Linked DNA regions of Homo sapiens: region 2 is linked to region 1. Evidence: promoter capture Hi-C in human tissues and cell types (Jung and others, 2019). All regions are on one chromosome and are shown on one strand. The core of a region is centred on a gene start or on the middle of the fragment in contact, and the rest is flanking DNA. Distances in the headings are between cores, read along the strand shown. Region 1 holds the start of NADSYN1 (NAD synthetase 1). Region 2 overlaps SHANK2 (SH3 and multiple ankyrin repeat domains 2).

Region 1 (7,261 bases), core at 3,578-6,077:
AAAAACCACCCACAAAGCTGCCCCTGTGTTTCTTGCTACAGATGCTTGTAGTCGGCTGAATGATGAACCCCAAAAAGGTCCGTCCACACCCCACCTTAGAAACCTGCGAAGGTGACCTTATTTTAGAAGAAGAGTCTGCTGATGTAACTAAATTAAGTATCCCAAGATGAGATCACCCTGGCTTTTGCAGGGGGGCCTAAATCCAATGACAAGTGTCCTTGTAAGAGAAAGGAGAGGAGAGACAGGGAGAACAGGAGGCAACATGAGGACGGAGGCAGAGATGGGAGCAATGAGGCCACAAGCCAAGGAGCACCTGGAACCACCAGGAGCTGGGAAAGGCACGAGGGACCCTCCCCAAGAGCCTTCGGAGGGAGCCAGACGCTGCTGCCATCCTGATTTTGGACTTCCGGCTTCCTGAACTGTGAGAGAATACATTTCTGTTGCTTTAAGCCTCTAGTTTGTTTCTATCTGTTTCGGCAGCCACAGGAATTAATTCAATAATCTGTGGTGTCATTAAATGCGAAGGCTGGGTTTCTTAGTATTGGGGTTCCCATAATAAAATATAGAGTATCTGTAGAACACTTATAACTCTTCAAGAAGTTCTCCTTTCTACTACACATCAGCCTGGAAGGCACACTTCAAATGCCCAGCAAACCTCGCACACACCTGCATAAACCCCAAAACCAGCAATTGTGACTTTCAGTATCTGGGAAAGCATTGCTCTCTGCCTTGGCTCTGCTAAGAGGAAAAGCCCAGTTCTCAGATAGAAAAGGCATCCAGGAGATGTCCCAGTAGGGAATGGAGTTCTGAGATGTCCTTTCTCCTCCAACGGATCCGTTTCATGGGTTTTCATGCCCTGTTGGCGTCCTGGCCCACATGTGAAACCAAATAACGTTATAACACCACACGTCCCGCTGCATGGCATCCAGCGACCAGAGGCCTCTCACCCCTTCGGTGAGTCAGCAGCAGGAGCTGGTCCTGGGGCCATTTGGGTGGTAGCCTTCCCTTTCCAAAGCTTCCAGCACCAGCTCAAAGGAAACTGCTGACTTTTCTAGGTGAGAGGGTCTCTGGTCCATGAGTCAGCCTGCTCTAGGGCCACTGGGCCCTCCCTGTGTATCAGGTGCTGGACCTCTAACCAGTAAGAACAAGAGGCGGTGTGCTCAGTGAAGTGATGTCCCTCCTCTCCTGCCTCGGTTTCCTCTCTGTAAGTTGTTGGAATATTTCACAGGAGCCTGCTCAGCAGGTTGTAAGCTACTTGGAGACCTGCTCAGCTGGGCCCCTGTCCCTGCTGGATGCAAATATTCCATCCCGGGGGCCTTTAGTTAGACATCCTCCCACTTTTAAAATGAAACAGGTCCATATTTGGAGGAAAGAGAGAGGTGGATGTAACATTTATAGGAGAGAGAGACTAGGACGAAGAAAGAAAAGAAGACGTAAACTCTAAGCATCTGGGCAACATCAGGCCAGGGGGACTGGGCTGTCACCACTGCAGCTCCTCCAGGGCAAGCAGCAGACAGGACATGAGGATCAGGCCCCCGGACCAGCCCAGGAGAGGTCAGGCTCACGAGACGATCAGGCCTTGAGTCCAGCCCAGGAGAAGATCCGGCCACGGGGCCAGGAGAGGATCGAAGCTTTGTGATATCAGACAGCCCAGAACCCTAGATCCCTTGGCACTTAGGTGAAGAATTTCTTAAAGAATCAATCAAATGAAGACAAATTAAAGAACAAAGTAAACATTCTTGGATATTATGGGAGAAACAGCCCTATTTGAAGGTGGTATTCTAAGGAGAGAAATCAATCTAATGAAGGAAAGAAACTTGGAAGGACTTAGAGAAAGATGCCTCTGGACTCACACAAAACCTCCTAAGAGAAGACAGTTCCTGCTTACTCTAAGTCCAGAAGCAAGAACACACACTAAGGCAGGGGACAAAGACTGAAGAGGAACTTCCAGATCCCACAACGGGTCAGAGGCCTAAAGACCAACGGGAAACTAGCAGAGCACAGATGGCAGCTGACATCCAAAATGAGAAAGGACTATCGCTTACAAGAGACTTACAACGTGGCTACTCATTGTTTTGTTTTCATTTTTGTTTTTGTTTTTGAAGGGACAAGAAGGGAAATAAGCAATCAGTTTTCCTGATTTTTACAAAAAGGCATATAAGAAACGATAACCTATGCTTGCTTGTGGAAAGATTCTGAGATCACGGAATGAAAACCTGGGAATATGTCTTGGTCCTTCAGCCTGCTATAACAAAACACCTTGGACTGGGTAATTAATAAACAGCAGAAATGTATTGCTCACAGTTCTGGAGGCTGGGAAGCCCACGATCAAGGTGCTGGCAGATTTGGTATCTGGTAAGGACTGGTTGTCTCCTTCTCTGTGTCCTCACATGGTAGAAGGGGCCAACAAGCTCCTTTGGGCCTCTCTTGTAAGAGCACTAATCCCATTCATGCAGGCTCCACTCTCATGCCCTCATGACCCAATCACCTGCCAAAGGCCTCATCTCTTAATTCCATCATCTGGGGGTTAGGTTTCAACATATGAATTTTGTGGGGACGCAAACATTCAGACCACAGCAAAAGGGCAGTGGTAACACAGAAGCAGCCCAACTTTGAAACTGGCCTTCATCTGGTAAAAGTCAGTTCTTTTAATTACTCAACATGGGAATCTAGACTTATTCAGCCTCCCTGGGCCTGCCCTTGCTCAGGTGTTCAATGGCATTAACCAGGCCCAACAGTGGGTGTGGCGTGTCCACAGCTCTCAGGACTGTCCCTGCTCCTTCCTTGCCTTCTCAGCTGGGGAAAACTGATGCTGGTATCGCTAGCTGACGACCCCAGGGTGTCTGTGTCTGTTCTCACCATATTTCCAGCTCTGGTCCAAGCCTGTATCTTGCTCCTCTGTTTTTGGCAATTTCAATACCTGTAAGTACAGAGAGAAAAAGAAAATGGAGCAATTTCAGCACCTATACACTCAAAGACAGATGAAACAACCTGCTGCAGTAGGTAGGATAAAAAAAAAAACAAACAACAAACAAAAATGCTCTGTGCCTTCCCAGACGGGATGCAGTCAGGCTTCCTGTTGACAGCATGGCAGCAGAGGGCAGCATACACCTGTATACACCTGTATACACGAGTACGCCTGCACCTGCTTATACTTGCATATACCTGCTTATATCTGCAGGAAATGAGAAACAGGGAGGGCTTGCAGGTCTGACCCTTAGCACCATGGAGGAGGCGGAGGAAGAGGAAGAAGTCAGACCCTGGTAGTTTATTAACAAGGAAATGCCCAACACCATCTAGAGGAAAAAGGACTTAGAGGATTACGATCCAGCAGTGGTGCCACTGTCAGGCACCATCGGCTTACTGGTCTTGGGCAGCAGCTTCCAACAAGCACCTAGGGAGGAGAGGCTGGCAGAGTGGAAACTTAGTTTTGGCCAAGCCTTCTTCAGTTCAACTAGATTTGCTCTGAGCAAATGAGGTGAAAGCAGGTTGATATTTAAAAAATAAAAATAAAAAACCACTGGCTGCGGTGGCTCATGCCTGGAATCCCAGCACTTTGGGAGGCCAAGGCAGGTGGATCACTTGAGGTCAGGAGTTCGAGGCCAGCATGGCCACCATGGTGAAACCTTGTCTCTACTAAAAATACAGAAATTGGCCATGCATGGTGGCAGACGCCTGTAATCCCAGCTACTCAGGAGGCTGAGGCAGGAGAATCGCTTGAGCCCAGGAGGCAGAGACTGCAGTGAGCCAAGATGACACCACTGCACTCCAGCCAGGGCAACAGAGTGACAGTCCATGTCAAATAATAATAATCATAATAATAATCCAGGGCACATACTGATTAGATGCCATCTCTTGAAACATTCTGTTTCTATTGTTCCTGGCAAAGGCTCTTGCAGTCAGCAGACCAGTGCAAGACAAGCTGCAACCTGACTACACCTGCAGGCTTGCCCATTTAGGTGCAGGTGTAATAGTTTAACTTTTCATCCTCCACGGTGCGTCCATATGAACGAAAATTAGATGGTGACCTTTCAACAACCACACCCTATCTTCGAGGCCACCACGCCCGGCTGATTTTTGTATTTTTAGTAGAGACGGTGTTTCACCATGATGGCCAGGCTGGTCTTGAACTCCTGACCTCAGGTGACTTCCACCCCCTCCGGCCCCCCCAAAATGCTGGGATGACAGGCGTCTTTTTCTACTTCCCTTTCTGGGACGCCTTCTCCCACCAGGAAGGCCCACGGGGACCAGAGACCATCAATCTCTGGCCTCTGCACACCATCCCCGCCAGTGCGCAGCCATTCTGTTCAACTTAGATATCTCCGAGAATGGGCAGCTCAGTCCCAACCACGGGACCCCAGAGATATCAGAACACGGGTCCATCCCCAGGCCTCCCGCCTAAGCCGCCAGACTTTTCTTAACCGTGCCTTGTATATCGCTCGTCCCCGGGAACTATAAACACTCACTTCCCGACGAGGACCTGAGCACGTACCACTGGCGGGGTCATTGCCCATTATCTCACCTGATCCCATGCCCAGGGCCGAGAGTTTCCCAGGGCAAGGCTGTGAGCACGCCACGGGCAAGCCTGGGCCCAGCCACGGTGCCCGTGCGCCACCCCAAACCGGTGCCCCCGCCGCCCCAGACTCACTCTTTAAAATTCTTTGCAAATTGCCCTCGAAGTCCAGGGCCCACTGGTTGAGTGCGCAGGTGGCCACGGTCACCTTCCGGCCCATCCTGGCCGCAGTCGCTTGGGCAGGAGGCCAGCGGGGGACAGCAAGACCAGGGTCCCAGCGAGGTAGGCGGCTGGGACGCCGGACCTTCCGGGTTGCCCGGCCCCGCCCCCTCCCCGCCCATCCGTTGAGGCTCCGGCCAAGGAGGACTGCGGCGTCAGGCCCTGCCTACGGATCGCCCCGCCCCGTCTGAGGAGCTCACGACCGCGCCTGCGCAGCGAGGTGGCCTCAGCGTTCACGGCACCGCGAAGGGCCCCGCCCCCGCCCCGGCTCCACCCACGTCCCAGGCCCCGGCCCCGGCCCGGCCCTTGCGGGCAAACCCGTTCAGGTGCACAGGTGCAGGGGGCTCACCGCCCAGCTGCAGCACCCCTCTATTTTATCCCACACCGCCACCCCACATCCAGCTTAGCCATGTTTTATTTTAATACGGCATGAAACGTTCCAAATACACCAAAAGTGGAGAGTACGGTAGGAGCGCTCCATCGTGCCCGCGGGACAGCAGACGATAGCAATCGATTCTCCGTGCTGGGAATCCCGCCACCCTGGGCGGATGGCGCTGAATTCTTGGGAACCCTCTCCTGCCCCTTTCACTCCTGTACCACGTGTGTAAGTAGCTCAGGTAGCGCACTGTTTGCCTTTTCTGAAACTACAGGAACTGCACTTGAATGTGCTTCTGCAACTTGATTTTTTCCCCTGTAATATGAGATACGTTCTTTTAATTATTTTTCTGCAGTTTGGTATTCCATAGTGGCAGTAAAGCAGGTTTATTCAATAGCGGATGGGCATTGACGTTATTAGCAGCGTTTTGCCAACAGACGCACGCACACAGGCACTGCTGCAATTTCCTTTCCGGCAAGGTTTCCTTCGTGACCTCGTTCCGCCAGTTCCTGCAGCAGCTTTGCAGAGTAGTAGGGTTCGTGCTGTTTGACTTTACTAAATATTGCCAAGTCTCTTCTCCAGGGCGCTTGCACCGATTCACTACCAGCGGTTTCTCACTTTTTATTTTTTCACATTTCCTCTTTAGTCCACCCACGGTAGAATCCATTTTTCCCCCATATAAATAACTGCCTCATCATCGTTGCTTGAAGAGGCCATCCTTCCTTCTGTCATTCATGTTAGTTTAAAAACACACAATTCACAAATTTGGAAAAAGAGAAGGCTTTATTTCTTGTAAACGGTCGTAGCCTGCAAGGTGGCGGCCATCTGTCTGAGGCTGGGAATCTGTCTCCAGCCAAGGCCAGAGACAGGCACGTCCAAGGAGGAGGGGTTGGGGCAGGAGCGCTATGCTGAAGGGATTGGCTAAACATACATATTCAACAGGTAACAGGAGGAGCTATGAATATTCATGAAGGTGGTCCTGACACATGCCCTCTTATTGAGCAAAGCATGTAATATATGACCCATGTTCACTTTGGGGTGGAGACTTAACATTTACACATCTTACAATTAGGGCCTTTATGGCAAAACGTCTTTTCAGGACACAAAGGCATGCAGGTGCATCATCTCTCTCTATTAACGGGTCAGCTGGTCGGCATGGTCAGCTGGTCGGTGGTCTCTTATTAGGAGAAAGTCACTGAAATCAGTCTCTTGTCCAATCACAGCTGCTATGGCTGGTGAAACAGAGTCAGTTAGTTGGCACCTAGTGGAGCTGCAATTGTTTTAATATTCCCTATCCCAAGGCTAGTGTGTGTTTGGCTAATAGAGAAACAGAAAGCCTTGTGGCTCTTAGAATATAGTTTATTCTCTAAGTGTGGGTTGCCTGACTTACCCTCGCCTAGCATGGCTTTGGGTCCTGTTTATAATTTGGTATCTTATTGCCACAGAGTCCGTTCTGTCAGTCTTACGATCTCTGTTTTAACATGAATGCCGGCCAGTTGTGGTGTCCAAACTCTGAAACAGGGGGCTATTACCAGGCGCATCTGACCTCCCATCCCATCATGTCTGGGAATTCAGTGTTGAGGTTTTTCTGGTGTCCCCTTGGTCAGGAGAAGGTCCCTTTGGTCAATGGGGGGCTTAGGATTTTATTTTTACCTTATGTACATATACCCGTTTTCACATTTTGAATCACTTTTTTTCCTGTCTATAAAGTAGTGCTTGTTCATGACAATTTGGAAACTCCACAAAAGCACCAGAATGTTATACATGCTAACTTATTTAATCCTCACAGTAGTTTTCATGCTTCTGAAATCCACACGATCTGCTCAAATTATCTCCTGCCAACAATGGCTGATGCCAGGCCTGGGCAGAGAAGGGGAGGATCCTTGAACATCTGGTTGTCCCAGAAAATAAGTAAGTACTCAAAGGATGGTAGATACATGTCATATGAAAAAAGAAGCCAATTTGAAGGGGCTCCCGTTAGCTAAATACAGGACAATACAGTAAGGATCATAACTCGGTCAGCTAAATCCATTAGGGCATACTGATAAAAAATAAATCAAAGAGGAAATCCCTACAGAAGAATGCTTGCTAATAAATAATTTATTAATAAATGTTGAGGGAATGATAAAATTAGAAAATTAACACTTTGTCCC
Region 2 (7,261 bases), core at 1,435-3,934, 240 kb after region 1:
TAGATTGGCAGTGCAGGAGGTCTGTTTAGGCCAGCAGCATCACAGACGCGTGAGGAATGCATTGAGCTACGACGTCCCTGGGGCTGTGACCTCACTTGGTGATAAAAAGTTTTCAGCTCCATTGCAATCTTATGGGACCGCCATTGCATACACAGTCCCTCCTTGACTGAAATGTTGACAGCAGCACGTGGCTGTATTTTCAGAGTGGCGCAGTCATCACCCAAATCAATATTAACATTTGTGAAGAGTAATCTTTTTTTATATTCCCCCCCAAAACCTGTACCATTAGAAGTCACTCCCTCCTCCTGAATCCCTCTAACCAATCACCTCCGGCCCTGGCGACCACAAATCTCCATTTCATCTCTACGGATTTGCCCATCTGGGACAGTTCATATAAATGGAATCGTATAATACATGACCTTTGTGTCCATCTTCTCACTCAGCATCATGTTTTCAAGGCTTGACCACGTTTAGCATGATTCAGTGATTCCTTCCTTTTAAAGGCTGAGTGATACTGCACCATATGATACAGCATCTTTTTAATCCAATATTATGTTTATCACATGCTGGACATTTGGGTTGTTCCCACTTTTTGGCTTTTACACACTTGGACATTCTTGTACAGGCTTTTGTGTGGACGCGATTTCGTTTCTCTCGGGTAGATTCCTAGGAGTGGAGCTGCTGGGCCGTGTGGAGTCGTGTGTCCCTCAGTGGAGGAGGGACAAACCATGTTCCAGAGAGTGGCTGCGCCGTTGGACCTCCTCTCCAGCGTCGGATGAGGGCTCCACTTGCTCCACTCCCTTGCCTGCTTCTGTTCCCATCTCTCTTCTTGGTTATCTTCATCCTGGAGGGTGGGGGAGGCGCTGTCTCATTGTGGTTCGAAAGATTTGATTTGAGCATCAGCAATGTGCCCAAGGTGGTGGTAGGTGCTGCGGGAGCCTGACTCCACTCCTTGTCCCTAAAAAGGTTGTGGTCTGACTACAGAGTGGGGGTGCCGCTTCTGGGGTGTCATGTCTGGGTTTTGCTAAATAATCGTGTTTGCAGAGGTTTGAGCTCCTGAGCTGGCACGCCTGCAGTGTGTGCAGGGAGAGAGGTGTAGATGGATGTCCGAGGACATTAGCAGGGCCCTGAGTGGGAGCCACTGTGCCACGGATGGCTATGTGGGGACACCTCCTCGGGGAACAGTTGGGGCTGTGGCCTTCTGCAGGTGCCTGCCTGGGAAAGGAGGTACATCCTCAGCAGGCCTTCCTTGCTTTCTTTTCAGGCCTGACCTCACGTTCGCTCAGGGGGCCTGTCTTGGCAGGAGGCACCATCTGAAGCTCCCTCGGTGCCTCTGGGACCTGAGCCCTGCTGATGGGCAGCCAGGGGTGACCAGGGCAGAACCTGCTGAAGGCTTCATGGGAGACACAAAGCCTTGAGATGACAGAGTGGCGTGTTCAGACAGGGTGAGGGGAGCCAGGGAGGCCTCAAAAGTACAGACGCAGGGGGCAGGGGGACCAGATGTTACTTGGTGCTGCCCCTGCTGAGACTGTGGTGGACACCGAGGCTCAGAGAGAGCGTGGGCCCTGCTGCGGCTCCAGGGTGAGAGCTGGGGCCTGTGGTTCTTTCCAGCACTCGGATGGCATTAAGCTGCACTATCACGAGGGGTTTTGATGAAGGACATCGCACATCGGGGCATGCCTGCCTGATGGTGTGAGCGTGTGGGCTGTGGGAGAATGGCTGGTGGAGGGAGCTGTCCGCTGAAGGGAAAGCCCCATGTACCTGCAGCACAGCCAGCTCCTCTGTGTATGTGGGATCCAGGAGGAAACCGCCACGCAGCCCTATTCTGTTCTCCCTCCCTGCCGAGAGGAGGATGTGTGGAAGGCGGGATGCTTGGTGGCCTTCAATACCTGGAGACCAGAACGAAAGGCTGTGGCCACCCCCAGGCCTCCCATCGAGCACCTGCTGGTCTAGAATGGCCTTTTGTGACCCCACTTCACCTTCTTAGCAATTGCACGAGAGGACAGCTGCATGGGTCCCAGTCAGAACTGCGCGATACCCCACCCCAGAGGACAGGGCAGCCCGGGGTGGCACGCGACAGATGTGTGGGTGGGCACTTGGGTGGGCCAAGGGTCTGACAGTGATGCCCCCTTGGCCTGACTCCAGTTAGCTTCTGGCCAGACTTGCTGAGACAGCAGTGGGACCCTGAGCCAGACCCATCTTCACATTTTAGTCTCCCAACCTAGCAGGCTGAGCAGAGATGACACTTCTTCGGAAACGTGTGGTTAGGGAAGGTCGTTTTCTCAAGCAAAGCTGATGGCGCTAAATCACGATGTCTTTTGGCTACAGAAGAAAGAAGTCCCAGCTGTGTGTGTTTCGGCTGTGGGTGGAAAAGAAGGGAGGGTGTCCCTCTAGGGCCTGGGGAGCCCTGGTTTGTTGCTGGGAGGTCCAGAGGGGAGCCAGCACGCGGTTCCTCACCTGCGTGGAAACTGTCTTCCTTGCTGCGTCTGTCTCATTTGTGCTGCGGGATTTTAACTGATGGAGGTGGCTGAGTGAGGACAAAAAGATTTCCCAAAAGAAGGTTTTATGGCTTACATTTCCCAAGAGCAGGGGGCATGAGCCCTGGGGCCACAGGGGAAGCCCCAGGGTTTGGTCAGGAGGCAGGAGGTGGGAGGAAACTGAGGCCAGACCCTTTCTGGGGGTTTCTGTGAGAGAGGCAGGGCCAGGCCAGGTGAGTCACTGCAGCAGGCCTGGGGCTGTAGGGGAGGTCTTTGCTTGCCTGGCACCTGGTCCTGGGGCGCGTTAGGGCAGGGGTGGTTCATATTGGCTGGGTGAACAGGAGTTGAAAAAGGGGTGGTTGGCTTGTGCATGCGAGTGCATGGTAAATGGCCCAAGGAAGCCACTTACTGTCTTTGGGAACTAGCCAGCTCTGGAAGGGGCGGTCTCTCCCAGTGTCTGCGAGGCTCCCCTAGATGTCAAAACGTCCTAAGACAGAAAATAGAAGACATGATTAGTCCAGTTTGCTTATCAGAAAGGCCGTTCCTCTGTGTGGATGGAGGCGGCAGGCTGGCAAGAGCCAGAGAGGGAGATGACATGTTTGTAGAAGGAAGATCAGCCCGGTGCTCAGGTGTGGCCACCACCTTTTCCCACAGGGAGTCAGTTTCCGAGTGTGGGGAACATCAGAAGGAGACCCTCAGAGTTCAACAATGCTATTTAGGTCTAATGCCCCACATGGCTCGTGCAGTGATTAAAAACAATTCCAGAGCACAGAGGACAGAGTCTGCGCTCTCCTCTGTGTGGTGTTTGAACCTCTGTTTTACAGGAAAATGGACTTTGAGTTAAAAACCTTGCCCCTGGGGATTTATCCAGAGGGAAGAGTAAAGTGAAACTGTGATCATAAAGATGTCCAACTTGGCACTATTTAGGATAGTGAAAGGTTGGAGCAAACTGTGTTTTCCAGAATAGAGGGACGAAAGAGTATGGTAATCTTGGCGTCCTCACAAAATACCAGACAGTTGTTGGCAGGCACAGCTGTGCAGGCTGCTGGCCGTGTGGGAAATATCTGCCTCTGTTGTGAGAGCCTCCCTGTGCCTGGCCCCTCAGCTGCTAGGAGTCCCTGCTGTCCCGGGAAGATTCTCCTTTTCCACCTTTGCTTGTTCTCTGTAAAGAACCTCAGCCCTTAAGCCCCCTGGACTTACCTGGGTGGCAGCAGCAGTCCTGCACCCTGCAACGCTGTAGAAATGGGCACAGTGTCTTTCGGTTCCTGCTCCTCTTCCTTTGCCTCCACCTGGGGTCCCTGCTCCTCTCCCTGTGCCTCCCCCTGGGGTCCCTGCTCCTCTCCCTGTGCCTCCGCCTGGGGTCCCTGCTCCTCTCCCTGTGCCTCCGCCTGGGGTCCCTGCTCCTCTCCCTGTGCCTCCGCCTGGGGTCCCTGCTCCTCTTCCTGTGCCTCCACCTGCTGTTCCGACCTGGTTACCCAGTGAGGGAAATGGGGAAAGAAACCTCTCCTACCAGAGCAGGGATTCCTGGTGGCAAGAACGTCCTAAAGCTTTGCAAAGCTCTGGTGTTTGACGTTGAGGAAGTGGATTCATGGAAACTGCTGGAACCCTTTGAGGACTTGGATTGAGTTTATTCATCCAGGGAACAGGATTGTGTTCAGCATGCTCATTTCTATAAATCCTTCCATCTCGGCCAAAGATGGTCTCATCATCTTAGAGCAATGACAGCCCTTTCTCGTGGAATGGGCACGTTTGCTCTGTTCACTGCAGCCCCTGGAAACAGCCACATGATGCACATGGATGCTCACTGGGTGAGGACGAAGATGATACAAGAGGAGGAACGAGGCTTGTTTTCCCCAGAATGTCTTTTAAGTCCTAGGAAAAGGGCTGTGACATTTTGCTTTGGCTTTAAAGCCAGGTCTGAGAACATTTTTAGGCATGTTATTTAAATTGCAGATTTTAAGACCTTATCTATAGGATATCAGATTCAGTAGGAATCTGTCTTTTTAGCTGTTTTCCCAAATGAGTCTTCTGCATGCCACGCTGGTAAAACTCTGCTTGAACCATGAGGAGTCTCTAAGACCCAACTGTAGCATAAGAGAGCATTTGTACAGTTAACATCCGGTTTTTAATCTCTGAGCTTCCTGGCAGCCAGGGCAAGAAGAGAAAGATGGAATAACAGAATTCTTTTGTCTAATATCAGTTCATTTGGAAAGCAGACTTTTCTTGGTGCTCTCATCTAGGAAGAATTTTTTCATGCGACACGGTGTTTGCAGGTGGGGTTTTGCAAAAAACAAAATGGTTTCAAATATCTTTGACCTCAGTGAAAGCTGAAAACACAGTGAATAGGCTTTGAGGTGGACGTTAAGCCAGAGTCGTTCCAGTGTGTTCCCATCTCATATTTTGAAGTGATTCAGGCATGCAACTTAAAGAACCATGCACAGAGGAGATCTGGACAACTGCAAAGCTTTTCTCAAAAGAAGTGAAAAAAAGAATGAAAGAGAATTGACTCACCATACATCATGTGATTCCATTTATATGAAATGCCTCAAAGTGGCCAAGTTATATATAGAGAAAATAATTAGTGGTTGGGGAGAGACTGAGGGAGAGGATGGGGGAGCTTGAGGAGTGATGGCTAAGGGATACAGGTTAATTTTTTTTTTTTTTTTTTGCAAATGCTCAAAAATGGATTGTGGTGATAGATACCCTACTCTGTGAACTCACTAAAACCCACTGAATTATACATTTTATTTATTGTATTTATTTATTTTTTTTTGAGACAGGATCTTGCTTTGTTGCCCAGGCTGGAGGGCAGTGGCACAACCGTGGCTCACTGCAGCTTTGACCTCCCTAGCTGAAGTGATTCTCTCGCCTCAGCCCCCCAGGTAGCTGGGATTACAGGCACACACTACCATGCCTGGCTAATTTTTATGTTTTTGTAGAGATGGGGTTTCTCCATGTTGCCTGGGCTGGTCTTGAACACCTGAGCTCAAGCGATCTGACCTCCTCGGCCTCCCAAAAGGCTGGGAGCACTGAGTTACATGCTTTAAATGAGTGAATTCGATGATGTGTAAATTTTAAAATCTCAATGTTTTTTTCCAAAAAAAAAAAAAAAAAAAAAGGAAATTGACCAATAGGACACAGTGTGCTGGACTGAGTCCAGGGTTGGGTGCCAGGGAATATGGAGTAGCCACGGGGCCTGTGGGTGTCTCAGGGAGCTGTCATCGTGAACTTGGTAAGGGGAGCAATTAGGGCTGCAGCAGCCCTGGGGGACCCCCCTGAAACAGGACCCTGAGGGGTCAAATGGCAGGATCCTGTCAGCGGTGCAGATGGACTGAACTGGAATACACCCCTGCCCTCTCCTCATGCGTCTGTCTTGGACCTGTTATGTTTCCCCAAATCCGTGAGGATGAGGGGAGTGCCGGCGCTGCATCACACTCTCTTCACTGCCCCCAAGATGTTTTTCTCTTCAGTCCTGAGGCTTCCGGGCTCATTCTTGGAGCAGGGAGAGTGCTGTCCAGGTGTGGAGTGTGTTTTATTTAGGACAATGGTGCTCTCTGTCCCCAGTTCCTTCAGCAGACGCCTGGGTCTCTTGGTATCCACTGAGCCCCAGGTCAAGTGGGGGGAAGTGGGTGGATGGAGTGATCTGGTCTCCAGCTGCAGTGGATTTCCTGACACTTGTGGAACAGTCTGCCAGTAGGGAAGAAGTGAGATGAGTGTGAACAGAAACAAAAGCACATTACATGAATATAAATATGTATCTGGGCTGGGCATGGTGGCTCACACCTGTAATCCCAGCACTTTGGGAGGCCGAGGTGGGTGGATCGCAAGGTCAGGAGATTTGAGACCATCCTGGCTAACACAGTGAAACCCCGTCTCTACTAAAAATACAAAAAAATTAGCCGGGCGTGGTGGTGGGCTTCTGTAGTCCCAGCTACTCGGGAGGCTGAGGCAGGAGAATGGCATGAACCTGGGAGGCAGAGCTTGCAGTGAGCCAAGATCACACTATTGCACTCCAGCCTGGGCGACAGAGAGAGACTCTGTTTCAAAAAATAAATAAATATATATATATATATATATATATATATATATATATATATATACCTGTGGATTTCCAATGAAGAGGACCAGGTGGCAAGGGCTGAGACCAGGTATGCACCACTAAATACTGGGGATGGTTTTGCAGCCCCTGGAGACCCCTTGGGACTGAGGCTGCCTTCAGAAGTTCCCTTGCAGATGATCGAAAGCTTCTGTTCTTCACATTTTGGGGTCACGGACTCGTTTGAGCATCTGATGAGTCTTGTGAAGAATGGATGCCTCAGCACACAACCCACGTCCTGTGTCGAATCCTCGGTGGTTTATTGCCACTCCCAGAGATACCCCACTGGGCGCCAGGCATCTGATGAGTCTTGTGAAGAATGGACACGTCCTGCTGTCCCAGAGAGCCCCCACGGGGTGCCAGGCAGGCCCCTGGGATGTAGTCTGGCAGAGACCCCCCAGTATATCTCTCTAGGCAGCTCACGGCAGGTGCTCTGTTGATGGGATGGGACAAAGACCCTCACCTCCAGAGCAGATGTGCTGTTTGGTAGTCCAGGGACACGCAGTATGGAGGGTCTCCTGCAGGAGCACCCAGCACATTGACACCAACACAGGGTTCCTGTCTGCTGTGTGTTCTGCCACAAGGGATGGCTGCTGCCTGGCTTTGCAGCTCTCCCAGAAGTTCACTGAGTCAAGAGTGAGGAGCTGGGTCTGGGTATGACCATGTGTGTGCTGGTGGGAGGGGGCAC

The links. The method cuts DNA at HindIII sites, captures the fragments that hold promoters and counts their contacts. A contact is called where the count stands out against the background at its distance.
Region 2: a fragment that was not itself captured here is called in contact with the fragment with the promoter of NADSYN1 in region 1 in 1 of the 25 tissues and cell types used here (mesenchymal stem cells).

What each region holds. Positions count from the first base shown.
Region 1 is chr11:71,450,769-71,458,029 of GRCh38, reverse strand. It overlaps NADSYN1 (NAD synthetase 1), which reads right to left and starts at 4,827. Exons shown (of 21, transcript NM_018161.5): 1 at 4,649-4,827; 2 at 2,860-2,920. The coding sequence starts at 4,733. DHCR7-DT (DHCR7 divergent transcript) reads right to left here. Exons shown (of 2, transcript NR_186309.1): 2 at 5,873-6,340. RefSeq lists enhancers at 3,670-4,169, 4,170-4,671, 5,909-5,988, 6,109-6,158 and a silencer at 4,729-5,098. The HindIII fragment of the contact is 4,997 bases long and covers 1,324-6,320 here.
Region 2 is chr11:71,209,527-71,216,787 of GRCh38, reverse strand. The region is part of intron 2 of SHANK2 (SH3 and multiple ankyrin repeat domains 2); the gene reads left to right. Among named protein-coding and RNA genes, the nearest start is that of SHANK2, 39 kb to the left of the region's middle. RefSeq lists an enhancer at 1,372-1,953. The HindIII fragment of the contact is 3,598 bases long and covers 886-4,483 here.